Linked DNA regions of Homo sapiens: region 2 is linked to region 1. The links are contacts of gene promoters, found by promoter capture Hi-C in blood cells and fetal thymus (Javierre and others, 2016). All regions are on one chromosome and are shown on one strand. The core of a region is centred on a gene start or on the middle of the fragment in contact, and the rest is flanking DNA. Distances in the headings are between cores, read along the strand shown. Region 1 holds the start of CTSW (cathepsin W). Region 2 holds the start of MALAT1 (metastasis associated lung adenocarcinoma transcript 1).

Region 1 (6,976 bases), core at 1,841-4,340:
CGTGTCCCTGCCCTGCCCGCACTGTGCTCGTTGTTCTGCAGCATGATGAAGTCCTGGATCCAGGCCACCTTCTGGTACTTCTTGGGGTGGCACCTGTGGGCTCTGACTTTGCCCTGGAACGGGTAGTCCTTTTCACTGGCCAGGCCGCCTGCAGATAAGCAAGACAAGGGAGGAGGTTCCGCTCCTGCCCACCCTGTCCCCCTGCAGATGTCCAGAGTGGCGGGGCAGTGCACTCACTGTTGTTGAGGACAGTTATGAACGCGTCCCAGACGAAGCCACCGTGGCAGCCATCCCCACAGCGGCCACAGTCCAGCAGTTCTGGTGCAAGAAGGGACAGTGTGGGTGACCAGGCCCCTAGGCCTCCCTCCCCTGTCACACGCGCACCCTCTCCCAACCCTACCCTGCACGGAGACATCCACAAAATCCCAGAAACTGATGCGCCACAGGGTCTCTATGTTGCCTGCCGCTGCCATGGCCCAGCAGCAGTTGCAGTTTTTCTGGAGGGCGAGAGGGTGGGGCGGGGCTAGGTGTTCGGGCCGTGCCCCTCTCCCTCCCACCACTTAGCTGAATTAGAGCCAGCTGGGTAGCGGCAGATACCTGGTCCTTGATGGGTGAGATGGCGCTGGCCACCTTCCGCCAGTCACAGCTGAAAGGTACTGACTCCTCTGGCTCTTCAGACCTTATTTCTCTGCCCATGCTGGGGACCCCTCCAGCTGCCCTCCGATAGCCATAGAGCTGGCCAAACTCCTCCTCTGGGGAACAGACAGGGCCACTGAGGTCTCCATTTTGACCCCTTCTCCCTGTTCTGCCTCTCCCACTCCAGCTGTTGGTCCCATAATTCCCTGAGGGGCAAAAAGGCAAGGATAGGCCGGGCGTGGTGGCTCACACCTATAATCCCAGCACTTTGGGAGGCCAAGGTGGGTGGATCACTTGAGGTCAGGAGTCCGAGACCCCATCTCCACAAAAAGTAGAAAAATTAGCTGGGCGTGGTTGTGCGGGCTTGTAGCCCCAGCTACTTAGAAGGCTGAGGGGTCGGGGGAATTGCTTGAGTCTAGGAGGTGGAGGCTGAGTGAGCTGTGATTGCACTATTGTACTGCAGCCTGGACAACAGAGCAAGACCCTGTCTCAAAAAGGCAAGGGTGCCAAGCCTAGAGAGGCTGGGCTCCCTGCTGGGTGCTTCCCTGCAGCTGCTGCGCTGGCCCCTAGGCTGGATTAGGACACAGGACTGCAGAGATTCTGCCCCTGCACTGGGTGATTTGATACCAGCACCCAAGCCCCTGGTCCTCAGGGAAATGAATTTCCTTCCCTGGGAAGTAAAAATTGAAGGTCCGCTGGGTCCAGCTGCCAGTGTCCCTGGGGAGATCGCTTCCCAACCACCACCTACGAGCCAGAAGGGTTAATGGTACCTGTGAGGTCACTGAATGGAGTCACCCCAAACTCAGCTGTGCCCAAGTCCTCCTCCTGCAGCCTCTGAGCCTGGGCCAGGTTGTGGGCAAAGATGTCCAGGCGGTGAGCATGCTCTGGACCAAAAGGGAGTTGTCCTAGGCTGACTCCCAAGCCCTTAGGGGCAGGAAGTAGCCGCTGGCTGGGCACCCTTCCACCCACACCCACCCAGTTGAGCACTGGCTCCTTTCCTGTAGCCCCCACAAGGCCCCACTGCAGATACCCAGGCCCAGGAAGTGGTTACCCAGCCCACCGAGGGTTGGGTTTTCCCCAGAGGCAGCCAGAGGACCATCTCTGGCCACCCTAGGTGGGAAGCCAGGCAAGGGGTCCGGTGGTGGTGACTCAAGGATGTGTGGCTGGAGACCAGCTTCCTGCCAGGCCACGTCCTTTACACCTCTGACCACAGGAGGAGAGCTGGAACATGGCAGGGAGAGGAGATGACAAGGCACAGGCAGTCTGGGCTAAAAGGCACACACAGATCAGCCCCCTAGAGAGATCAGCACAGCGAGAGGGCAGGGGCAGGGGTTAGATCATGGGCTAGAGAAGAAGTCCCCAATGTGGGGACAAAATGGGTGTCCTTGGGTGTTTGCTGAATGAGCAAATGACTAGGTGGTGGCCCCCTGTCCACTGCCTAGAATCGCAGGGAAGTGGCTGTGGAGCCAGGGGATCACGTAGGACTAGGGCAGGACCCCACCTCCTGCCACTGCCCTCCAGATCCATAGCAAAGAATGATCCTGGACCCACTCATGCCTTCGGGAAACCAGGGAACACACCCCCAGCCCTGGCCTGTCCTGCTGAGTGGCCTTGGCCATGCCTGTTCCCCACCCTGAGCTTCGATTTCTTCATCTATTACAAAGCGGGATGGCTGGGCTCCGTGGCTTACACCTGTAATCCCAGCCCTTTGGGAGGCCGAGGCAGGCGGATCACCTGATGTCAGGAGTTCAAGACCAGCCTGGCCAACATGGTCAAACCCCATCTCTACTAAAAATGTAAAGGTTAGCCAAGTGTGGTGGCGCATGCCTGTAATCCCAGCTACTCAGAGGCTGAAGCAGGAGAATCGCTTGAACCCGGGAGGTGGAGGTTGCAGTGAGCCAAGATGACACCATTGCACTCCAGCCTGGTCAACAAGAGTGAAACTCCGTCTCAAAAAAAAAAAAAGTGGGGGCTTGGACTGGAGATGTATGTGCCCTGTGATACCTTCTGGGCTCAGGTAACTCCGGTTGAACTGGATCTGGAACAACTTGAAGGCCTCTTTCAGCTCTAGCGGCTGGGGACCTAGGTCCTGGCAAGGAACCAAGGGTGGAGAGGGGCAGTGGGCAGAGGAATCATTGCTGGGGCCCCACCTTAGTTCCCAGCCGTGCAAGGACTGGGCTAGGGGTCAGCCAGTTAGCCTTTTCTGTCTTCCCATGTGCCCTTGGGCACGTCAGCCCCCTCTCCAGCCTCAGCAACTCCCTCTGAAAAATGAGAATGACAGGCCAGCTGTTTCTGAAGGGGTGACCCCAGGCGTGGGACTGGCATAGGTAAGGGTTTGGGAGCACTTACCTGGGCCCTAAGGGGGCCTCTGATGCCTTGGGCTAGGCCTGCCACCAACAGGGCCAGGAGGCAGGAGGGGTGGGCAGTCAGTGCCATGCCGGTGCAGTCTGGAGTGGCATGGAGGCAGGAAGCCGCGCAGATCGAGGAGGACGGTGTGAGGGTGGGGCTGGAGAAACCACGAAGGGGAAGACAGGCTTGGTGGGTGGAGGGTGGACCCCTAGAACCCACAAGTTGCTCAGGCCTTCAGGCTTTCAGTCCCTGCCTGTCTGCTCCCCATCCCACCCCTTTTTCTTTCTTTCTTTCTTTCTTTTTTTTTTCCACCCAGGTTGGAGTGCAGTGGCATGATCTCGGCTCACTGCAACCTCCACCTCCCGGGTTCAAGCAATTCTCCTGCCTCAGCCTCCCGACTAGCTGGGACTACAGGCATGCACCACCATGCCCAGCGAATTTTTTGTATTTTCAGTAGAGACAGCATTTCACCATGTTGGTCAGGCTGGTCTCCAACTCCTGACCTCAGGTGATCCACCTGCCTCAGCCTCCCAAAGTGCTGGGATAACAGGCATGAGCCACTGCGCCCAGCCAAGGGAACCACTCTTGCTCATCCTATGAAGCTCAGTCAGCTCAATGGCCGCCTCTTTCAAGAAGCCTTCCCTGCTTCCCCAACCTCTGGTAGAAGCTTTGCAGCCCCTTCAGCCCAGCTGCACCTGTGCCCATTGGGCATCTGCCTCCAACCACACCAGAAGTGTTCAGTTCGCTTGTGTCCTCGGTGTCCTCGGTTCCCAGGATAGGGCTAGGCATGAGTCAGGCTCGCTAGGTGTTTGTTGACTGAACAATTGATCATCATGAGTTTTAAACAGGAAAGCAGGCCGGGCATAATGGCTCATGCCTGTAATCTCATCACTTTGGGAGGCCAAGGTAGGAGAATCATTTGAGCTCAGGAGTTGGAGACAAACTTGGACAACTGAGCAAGGCTTCATCTCTACTTAAAAAAAAAAAAGTTAGCCAAGCATGGTGGTGCTCTCCTGTAGTCCCAGCTACTGGGGAGGCTGAGGCCAGTGGGATTGCTTGAGCCTGGAAGATTAAGGCTGCAGTGAGCTATGATCATGCCTCTGCACTCCAGCGTGGGTCCAAGATCCTGTGTCAAAAAAACAAAACCAGGCCAGGCACGGTGGCTCACGCTTGTAATCCCAGCACTTTGGGAGGCCGAGGCGGGTGGATCACCTGAGGTCAGGAGTTGGAGACCAGCCTGGCCAACATGGTGAAACCCTGTCTCTACTAAAAATACAAAAAAGCAGCTGGGCATGGTGGCGGGCGCCTATAATCCCAGTTACTCGGGAGGCTGAGGCACAAGAATCACTTGAACCTGAGAGGTGGAGGTTGCAGTGAGCCGAGATCGCACCATTACACTCCAGCCTGGGCAACAAAAGTGAAACTCCATCTCAAAAAACAAAACAAAACAGGAAAGCGCAGAGTCAGAGTCCGGGAGCAGCAACTGCAGCCAGTGCCTCCCGTTCCTCATCCCTCCCACGGTCTAGGGATGAGGATGAGGGGGCTGAAGAGCCAGAAGGATAACAGGGTGAGCATCACAGACGGAGGGAGGCCAAAGCCTGACTTGTGAGGTCAAGGGCTGGGCAGCAGCATTAACACCCGTTACTGCTGCCTTTGTTCTAAGTGGGTCCTTGGGCTGGGGACCTCCCCTATAGGAGTTCAGGCTGAGAACTGGTGACCAAGACCAGAGAAGGGTGTGAAGAGCTGGCTTTCTAGGGTTCCATGGGGTGGGAGACAGGACAGCTATAATCCTGGGATTTATTCACTTACATGCTCACTACTGCGTTTCTTTTTTTTGTTTGTTTTTTTGAGACGGAGTCTCGCTCTGTCGCCCAGGCTGGAGTGCAGTGGTGCGATCTCGGCTCACTGGAACCTCCACCTCCTGGGTTCACGCCATTCTCCTGCCTCGGCCTCCCGAGTAGCTGGGACTACAGGCACCCGCCACCACGCCCGGCTAATTTTTTGTATTTTTTAGTAGAGACAGGGTTTCACCATGTTAGCCAGGATGGTCTTGATCTCTTGACCTCGTGATCCGCTCGCCTCGGCCTCCCAAAGTGCTGGGATTACAGGCGTGAGCCACCACGCCCGGCCTACCATGTTTCTTTATTAGGATTCCTCCCAGAGTCGTGAGGCCACACTTTGTCACCCTGCCCAGAGAGTAAACCAAGGGGCTTCTCTATCTGAAAAGCATGCTGCTGCCTTTATTGAAATGCAGTGGACAGACCATCCCCAGAGTGGTGCCTGGCCCTGTGGTTCTAGAGCCCAGTTATGGGCCCCAGCCAGTCTTGTCCTGTGTGTGACTGATAGTTAAGGCTCCATGTCAGCCCTCAGAGGTGGAGGTCCCAGTGTGGGCCTCTTGTGATGGTAGGGGATGTGGGAGGCCACGGGGAAAAGGAACTGGAGGTGTGGGGCCCAGTGGCCTTCCCTTTGATCCTCTCCTCCCTTCCCTTGAACTAGAGCTCCTGAGGCCAGGAGGTTTGGGTCTGTTTTTGGTCAGTGCTGTGTCCCTGGCTAGCACCACAGCATCTGCTTCACAGTGGCCACTCAGTAAACATTGTTTGTTTTGTTTTGCTTTGTTTTTTTGAGACAGAGTCTCACTCTGTCGCCCAGCCTGGAGTGCAGTGTCACGATCTCGGCTCACCGCAACCTCTGCCTCCCGGGTTCCAGCAATTCTCCTGCCTCAGCCTCCCAAGTAACTAGGGCTACAGGTGTGCACCACCATGCTGGGGTAATCTTTTTGTATTTTTAGTAGAGACAGGGTTTCACCATGTTGGTCAGGCTGGTCTCAAACTCCTGACCTCAAGCAATCCACCTGCCTTGGCCTCCCAAAGTGCTGGGATTACAGGCGTGAGCCACTGCACCCGGCCGAGAAAACATTTGTTGAGTGAATCAATGAACTTCCTCCACCCACTCACTCATTTGTTCATTCAACTGCCTACTCTGCAGATCCCAGCTGGTACCCAGTAAGGGCTGGGCCATGGGCACAGGGGCCTCACTGCCTGAGAGGAGCTCCCTGCTTGGTAGGAGGGAGACACTGATCCAGTGGTGTCTGGGACCTTGAAAGGGACCCAGTGCAGAGCAGGCGAAGGCAGGGAAAGTCACTGGGGGTGCAGAGGACGAGGGAGGCATTCTGAGGAGGCAACTCCAAGTGGAAGGCTCACTCGGGCTGGATAGTGCAAAGATGGAGGTTCAGGTCTAGGTTGTGCACCAGCTGTGCACTAAGTCATCCCCCCTGGGCCTCATGTCTTCATCTCTAATTGGCAATGACAATTCTCAGGCTGAGGCTTGAGTGGAAGATACTTAGTGGAGCACCCACCACTGTGGCTGGCACAGAGTGGGTGTTTGCAGGGCGGGTCCTTAATGCTCTAATATGGGGCAAGGAGCCCAGCGAGTCTTGAAGTCCGTGGGACATGAGTGCAAGTCCCATCCTTCACCTGGGACAAGTCTCTCAGCCTCCCTATCTGTGAAATGGGGTGATAGCAGCACCCCTTTCCTGCCTTTTTTTATATTTCCTTTTTTTGAGACAGAGTCTTGCTCTGTTGCCCAGGCTGGAGTGCAGTGGCACGATCTTGGCTTACTGCAAACTCCACCTCTCCGGTTCAAGTGATTCTCCTGCCTCAGCCTCCTGAGTAGCTGGGACTACAGGCGTTCGCCCCCATAGCCCGCTAATTTTTGTGTTTTTAGTAGAGATGGGGTTTTGTCATGTTGGCCAAGTTGGTCTGGAATTCCTGACCTTAGGTGATCCACCCACCTTGGCCTCCTAAAGTGCTGGGATTACGGGCGTGAGCCACCGTGCCTGGCCTATTGTGGTATTATTACATACTATAAAACTCACATTTTTTTTTTTGAGACAGAGTCTCACTTTGTCGTCCAGGCTGGAGTGCAGTGGCGCGATCTCGGCTCACTGCAAGCTCCACCTCCCAGGTTCACGCCGTTCTCCAGCCTCAGCCTC
Region 2 (6,976 bases), core at 2,813-5,312, 380 kb after region 1:
GCCTTTACTTATCAATTCACCAAGGAGCTGTTTTCTCTGCATCTAGGCCATCATACTGCCAGGCTGGTTATGACTCAGAAGATGTTATCTGAAAAAAGTCTATAGAAAAAAAAAAAGTTTCCCCTCCCTCATCAACAAAAGCCCACCCTCTAAGAGACATTCAAGCTGAACTATCACAATTCTTAATCAGTTACAATTTACAAACAGATAAGTTTAAAATAAACAATTTACAAAATTTTTGAAGCATACCTTAACATCTTGTTTTGCAGTTAAACAATGGAAAAGTATTTCTCCTACACTAAAAAAAAACTTGCTTACACACAACTGAAAATAGAATCTTACTTGATAATACAAAAGCTACCATCAGAAGAAATCCCTTCAGGATCATTAAGCCACTTCCTTTGCTCTGCAGTTTCTATAGTAGTTTTAAATTATTATTAAATCACCTGAAAAAAATTCCAAAAGAGAACCACACACTACCATATCCAAACAACTTTTGCATTTCCCATAATTGTAGTTAATGTCAGCCCAGTAGGCCAGACCAACCCCCAGTTCAATACTTTCCTTCCCCAAAAGCTCTATACTTTGAAGGAAAACAGATACAGTATCAAATTATGACACTTTCCTTGCCCAAATTAATGCACTGGTACACCCAGTGGCTCATATTTAACTTCCCCCAGCTTCCCAATTCAAACTGGGGGGAAAAAAACTAAATCATTGGGAGTTACTTGCCAACTTGGAAGTTGATATTTCTTTACTTTTTCCATTCTAAGACTTTAAGTTCTCTGGCATGAGTTTATCTGCAATCATAAACTAAACAATTACCTAAACCCACCCCACCAATCCCAACCGTAACAGGCCACTGCCAACTAATTGCCAATATTTGCCCCTCCCCTTTAATAAAACTTTTAAGAAGTCACATTATTGGAAAACTTAACTTCAACATTTGGCCTACTCAAGCTCTTCTGAAGTTCTCCTGAGATGACTGAATATGAACCAAAGCTGCACTGTGCTGTACTTTTCAGCTTCAACTGGGAATACTCTTCCAAGGATAAAAGCAGCTCCAGTCCCTGAAGGTGTTCGTGCCAACAGCACAGCGGTACACTCCTTCTCTAACCCAGTTTGTCAATAGTACTATAGCATCTGTGGAAAATCTTAGAAAAAAACATTTTCTCCCCCACCCTCTCTCTTCCCTGTTAAGACCATCCCAAAATGCTTCAAGTAAAAAATAACAAGTTTAAGGGGTTAAGCACTTTTAAAGTCTGATTAAGGGGGTGGGGGGAAAAAAGAGTAACTACCAGCCATTTCTCCAATGGACATCTCTTCCACAGACCTCAACGTGAGAACTGCTCTAGTTTCTATAAACTGTAAACCTGTGGTGGTCTGATTATCCTGATATTGGATTTTCTTGTTTTCTGTTACACCTTGAGTCATTTGCCTTTAGGATTCTAGACAGACCTAAGGGAAAAAGAACTGAAAACATATTTTGCCCCCACCCCCACAAAAAAAAATACTGAAAACTCCCCCCCGCCTCAGTTACACATCCAAACTCTACATTTACAAAACGAATTCAGGGTGAGGAAGTAAAAACAGGTCATCTATTCACAAAACTGAAATACTTCATTACCCCAACTAAACATACAAACTGCTTACAGATTTGCTGAAATTGTCTCAATTTGGCTATCAAATTCATTTGGTTTTCCTCAAATTCGTGTAAAAAAAAAAAACCCACAAACTTGCCATCTACTATTTCTCCAGGACTTGGCAGTCTGCCCTCAAAAGCTTCAGACAAGATTCATGAGTATAAGCCTGAAAAAGAGAAACCTACAACACCCGGAAATCGGCCTACGTCCCCATATAAATCCCTTTACACCTCAGTACGAAACTCCCCCATTATATTAGAAAATAAATAAAAGGTTACCATAAGTAAGTTCCAGAAAAACAACATATTGCCGACCTCACGGATTTTTACCAACCACTCGCTTTCCCTGTGGCCTTGGCACACTGGCATGCTGGTCTAGGATCCTCTACGCACAACGCCTGCTCGCCTCCTCCGTGTGGTTGCCAAGCCAAGCCGCCTGCTACCTTCATCACCAAATTGCACTCGCTCCTTCCTGGAATCCTTTTTCCTAGCTTCACCACCAAATCGTTAGCGCTCCTTCCTTCTTCCTAGCTTCCTTCACCAAATCGCACTGGCTCCTGGACTCTTTTCCTATCTTCACCACGAACTGCTGCTTGCTCGCTTGCTCCTCAGTCCTAGCTTCATCAAACACTGGTTCCTGGAATCCTGTCTGCTGCTGTCTTCCTAGATTCACTGAATCCACTTCTGTGTAGCACCTGGGTCAGCTGTCAATTAATGCTAGTCCTCAGGATTTAAAAAATAATCTTAACTCAAAGTCCAATGCAAAAACATTAAGTTGGTAATTACTCTTGATCTTGAATTACTTCCGTTACGAAAGTCCTTCACATTTTTCAAACTAAGCTACTATATTTAAGGCCTTCCAAATTCTTCTAACTCTTCCAAAAGCCTTCTGCCTTAGTTTTTTTTAAATTACACCAGTCCTTTTAGTAGCTTTTTGATGTGATTTTTAACCAACTTCCCCTTCTAGCTTCAAGTATTCTTCTAAATTGGTTCTGGTCTACGTAAACACCCTCATCTTCTCAAGCTTTACCTTCTAACTTCTGCACCACCAGAAATTAAATTGATGGGCTTTTAAAATAAATTGGTTACCAATAATTTCCTCATTTTTTCAGTGCTATTTTATCCAATTTTTGGCTTTATATTTTTCTATCTTCTATACTTCTCCAATACTTGTCTTAGCTTGTTTTTCATTTTCTATCTGAAACTCTTGACAATATTTTCATTTTCTATCTTGTTTCTATCTTCCAATTTTCTTCTAAGTTTGTACATTTTGCCCTTAGCTTTTTGTTTCCTAGCTTGTCTTTTTTCTTCTGCTTCCTACTTTTCAGGTTTAAATTTATCTTTTTTCTTCTAAAAGTATGTTTTTATCTTCTAATTTCCCTATCTTCTCTATTCTTTTCTTCGCCTTCCCGTACTTCTGTCTTCCAGTTTTCCACTTCAAACTTCTATCTTCTCCAAATTGTTTCATCCTACCACTCCCAATTAATCTTTCCATTTTCGTCTGCGTTTAGTAAATGCGTTAACTAGGCTTTAAATGACGCAATTCTCCCTGCGTCATGGATTTCAAGGTCTTTTAATCACCTTCGGTTTAATCTCTTTTTAAAAGATCGCCTTCAAATTATTTTAATCACCTACAACTTTTAAACTAAACTTTAAGCTGTTTAAGTCACCTTCATTTTAATCTAAAAGCATTGCCCTTCTATTGGTATTAATTCGGGGCTCTGTAGTCCTTTCTCTCAATTTTCTTTTAAATACATTTTTTACTCCATGAAGAAGCTTCATCTCAACCTCCGTCATGTTTTAGAAACCTTTTATCTTTTCCTTCCTCATGCTACTCTTCTAAGTCTTCATATTTTCTCTTAAAATCTTAAGCTATTAAAATTACGTTAAAAACTTAACGCTAAGCAATATCTTAGTAACCTATTGACTATATTTTTTAAGTAGTTGTATTAATCTCTATCTTTCAAAGAGAAAAAAACTTATCTGCGGTTTCCTCAAGCTCCGCCTGCCCCCTCAGCAGAAGCCCCTGCGCTGGCTGCCTCAATGCCTACCGCACAGCTCGGGCGAGGCGTATTTATAGACGGAGAACAACTCGCATCACCGGAATTCGATCACCTTCCGCCGCCTTTGTGAGGGAGGCAAAAAGTAGTTCTTCGGTTAAAAATAGGTTCTAGTTTTACTTTTCTAGATTTTTCTTAACAGCTTATGGAACTTGAATGCAAACTACACATGCAGAAATACTTAAATTACTAGCGTGTGGAAAGATTTGAGCTGCAAACTTTAGACAAAAGAAACATGGAAATCATATTTTAAACGGGTCATCAAACACCTCACAAAACCCCCGGAACTTTTAAAATACCTCTTAAAGCACTTCTTGTGTTCTCTTGAGGGACAGTAGGTATAGTTTACCACCTTTTGAAGGAAGATTAAAGTGTGATAGTTCAGGGCTTTACTTTCCATTACGCAACTGAGCCCCAGCCTTGCAGGGACGGTTGAGAAGTGGCAAAATGGCGGACTTTCTCCCCCAACTGCTTGCAGTCCTGCGACTTGCTCCCAAGACAGCCACACGTTTTGCTTTTTTGTTCGAGAAATCGGAGCAGCACGGGCTGTCTGCTTGGGAAATCTTAGAAACGTGAAAACCCACTCTTGGAAAACGCCTCAATCCCACACCACAGAGCTGCTCCCCGCCTGAGCCCCGGGGGCCGTTGGCTGCCAGTGGCCCACTCTGATCTGCGGCCCCCCAGTTGCCGCCAGCCCCCCACGGCCCGCACGGAAATTTTTCTACCGTTTTTCAGCTTCCAGGCTCTCCTGAAAGTGCTCACAAGGCAAATCGCCATGGAAAGCGAGTTCAAGTGGCCTTTTAAAGTAGACCAACTAAGCGAATGGCTTTGTCTCCGAAGACACAGAGACCTTGGGCAGCCAGTCAGGGACACACCCAGAAGTGTTTACACTGCTCTGGGTCTGCTTTTTTAGGGGTTTTTGTTTTGCAGATTCTGTGTTATGCCTGGTTAGGTATGAGCTTCAGACCTTCTGAACCGGAGCAGGAAGAAAAATAAAAGCTTTCCTCCAAACCCCAAGACCAAACTGCAGAGTTTGAGTGGTTTTATCTAAATACCACCACCTGGAATGGCCAGCCTATAAGGACAGCTAAGATAGCAGCACAACTCGTCGCTGCGTCCCAAGGACTCTGGGAAACCTGGGCTCCCGGAGGCGTCAGAGGGGACCTGCCTTCAGGCGAGCTGAGGCTTCCCGGCGCCGGGCTTCTGCGTTGCTAAAATGGCGCTGCGCTTAAGAGGGCAGGAGAGGCCAGTTGCGGGGCCCCAGTCCTTTACAGAAGTCTCGGGCTGCAGGCTGCGGAGGGGAGAGCGGGGGCGGGGAGGGACTGCGCAACCGGTGGGGCTGCGTCAGGGACAAACGCCGGGGGAGGGGCGGCTCGCGAGCGCCGCGCAGGGATACGCGAGGGCCGTGAGCCGCCCTCCCTTTGTGAGGCGCTGGCTCGTGGGCGGGCGCCACTGGTTCTAACCGGCTCTAGCCGGTCCTGGCCGCCTTCCCGGAGCTGTGGCGGTTGGCGCAGCGCGTGACTGCGCACGCGCGCCCCGCCCTAACGCCTGTGCCTGTTCTGGGGAATGGCATGGGGGCGGGGTGGCAGCTGGCCTGGGAACTTCTCGGTCGCTACTCTGCGCTGTCACTGCACTTGGGGGCTGGTCTTTCTTTCGTGGAGCTGCTGCCCAACTTCCATTTTCAGTCTAGGTCTTCCTTTCCCACCTCTCTCCTGTCCTTTGTCATTTCCTCCATATAGTCTCGACGTCATCCATTAATTTAAAATCAGAACACAAACCTCGTGTAGCTATCAAGGGCCATGGCATTATTGTAAAATATCTTCGTCGTTTGTATGTCACCAGGTCTTACTAGTCTAGAATTCTCGGGGCAGAAGTGGTCTCAGGCTGACCTTGCAGCAGCCTAATTTTTTAGAAAAGAAACTGAAGCAATGACCTAAAATGGAGAGTTCCAGGGCACACAAAGCTTGGAGCTGGACGGGGTGGTGACACCCACCCTCTCCGCTCCCTCACCCCCGGGTCTTTGGAACCTGTATCCATGGCTTGTTTTTAGGCAGTCAACTCCGAGGGGAGAGATTAGTGACGCTGTATAGGTTAGGATGGCAAAACTAACACAATGATACAGCAACTCTATGAAGTTGATTTCTAAAACTCCTTTGGCTCCTGTAAATGATGCAGGTTGTGTACGGTGTTGGGGAGCTGCCCTGGGGGCTCCAGGAAATGAGGGTCCTGTTTTCTGGGCCAACTCCCTGTCCCCACCTGCCCACATAAAGCAGGGCCTGTTGAAGCAGCTGTTCTCAATTGACGCTGGTGAAACTGTTCTTGTTTTCTTTTCTTTTCTTTTTTATTTTTAAGCCTGTAAGAGTGGAATATTACTGAGATGCAGCCGGATCCCTTCAGGCACAGTCCTGATGCTTGCTCTGGGGTTGGAAATTTTTTAGTAGAATTTTATCGCTGGATGAAGGAAAACTGAGGCAGGTCACCTCGTTTCGCAAATGGGGATTTGGGGGCCTGGAGATTTTGTGATTTGCCTGAAATGACACACAGCTAATTAATAGCAGAAGCTGTTCTTGAATCCCAGATTTTCCACGTCCTGCTGCCTCCCTTCCTCTCCAGCACTTCTGTCAGTCTCTCCAACTGCGGTTTTTCTATATCTGGGGGAGGACCTAGGACCTGCTCTGTACTCTCTGCTCTCTCCTTCACTCTAGAGCGAGTGAGATGAACGTTAAGAGCCCTAAAATGCTTTAAATTATTGTCAGTGTCACTGCATTAATTTCCATTACCTTGACAGATTACAGAATGTTTCTTTTTTTTTTTTTTTGAGACGAAGTCTCACTCTATCGCTGAGGCTGGAGTGCAGTGGCGGGATCTCGGCTCACCGTAACCTCCGCCTCCCTGGTTCAAGCAATTCACTTGCCTCAGCCTCCCGAGTAGCTGGTACTACAGGCGCCCGCCACCACGCCCGACTAATTTTTTGTAGTTTTAGCAGAGACAGGGTTTCACCGTGTTAACCAGGATGGTCTGGATCTCCTGACCTCGTGATCCGCCCGCCTCGGCCTCCCAAAGTGCTGGGATTACAGGCTTGAGCCACTGTGCCCAGCCGCCAGAATGTTGTACAGTCATCCCTTGGTATCCATGGGGCCTTGGTTCTAAAACCTCTCCTCGGATGCTAAAATCTGAAGATGCTCAAGTTCCTTATGTAACCTACAGATATCCTCCCATATCCCTTAAATCATCTCTAGTTTGCTTATAATACCTAATACAACGTAAATAATTT

What was found. Contacts are between HindIII fragments. The CHiCAGO score rates a contact against its expected background, and 5 or more counts as called.
Region 2: a fragment that was not itself captured here is called in contact with the fragment with the promoter of CTSW in region 1 in 1 of 17 cell types (fetal thymus); the score reaches 5.4 in fetal thymus.

What each region holds. Positions count from the first base shown.
Region 1 is chr11:65,875,951-65,882,926 of GRCh38, reverse strand. CTSW (cathepsin W) reads right to left here and starts at 3,090. Exons shown (of 10, transcript NM_001335.4): 1 at 2,986-3,090; 2 at 2,641-2,725; 3 at 1,407-1,520; 4 at 598-752; 5 at 401-497; 6 at 238-318; 7 at 23-148. The coding sequence starts at 3,072. The HindIII fragment of the contact is 11,122 bases long and covers 1-3,654 here.
Region 2 is chr11:65,495,760-65,502,735 of GRCh38, reverse strand. MALAT1 (metastasis associated lung adenocarcinoma transcript 1) reads right to left here and starts at 3,691. Exons shown (of 1, transcript NR_002819.5): 1 at 1-3,691. It also overlaps TALAM1. RefSeq lists enhancers at 3,801-3,880, 3,931-4,000, 4,561-4,630, 4,691-4,930, 5,160-5,304 and 3 more, a silencer at 4,971-5,030 and a cis regulatory region at 5,224-5,239. The HindIII fragment of the contact is 1,283 bases long and covers 3,421-4,703 here.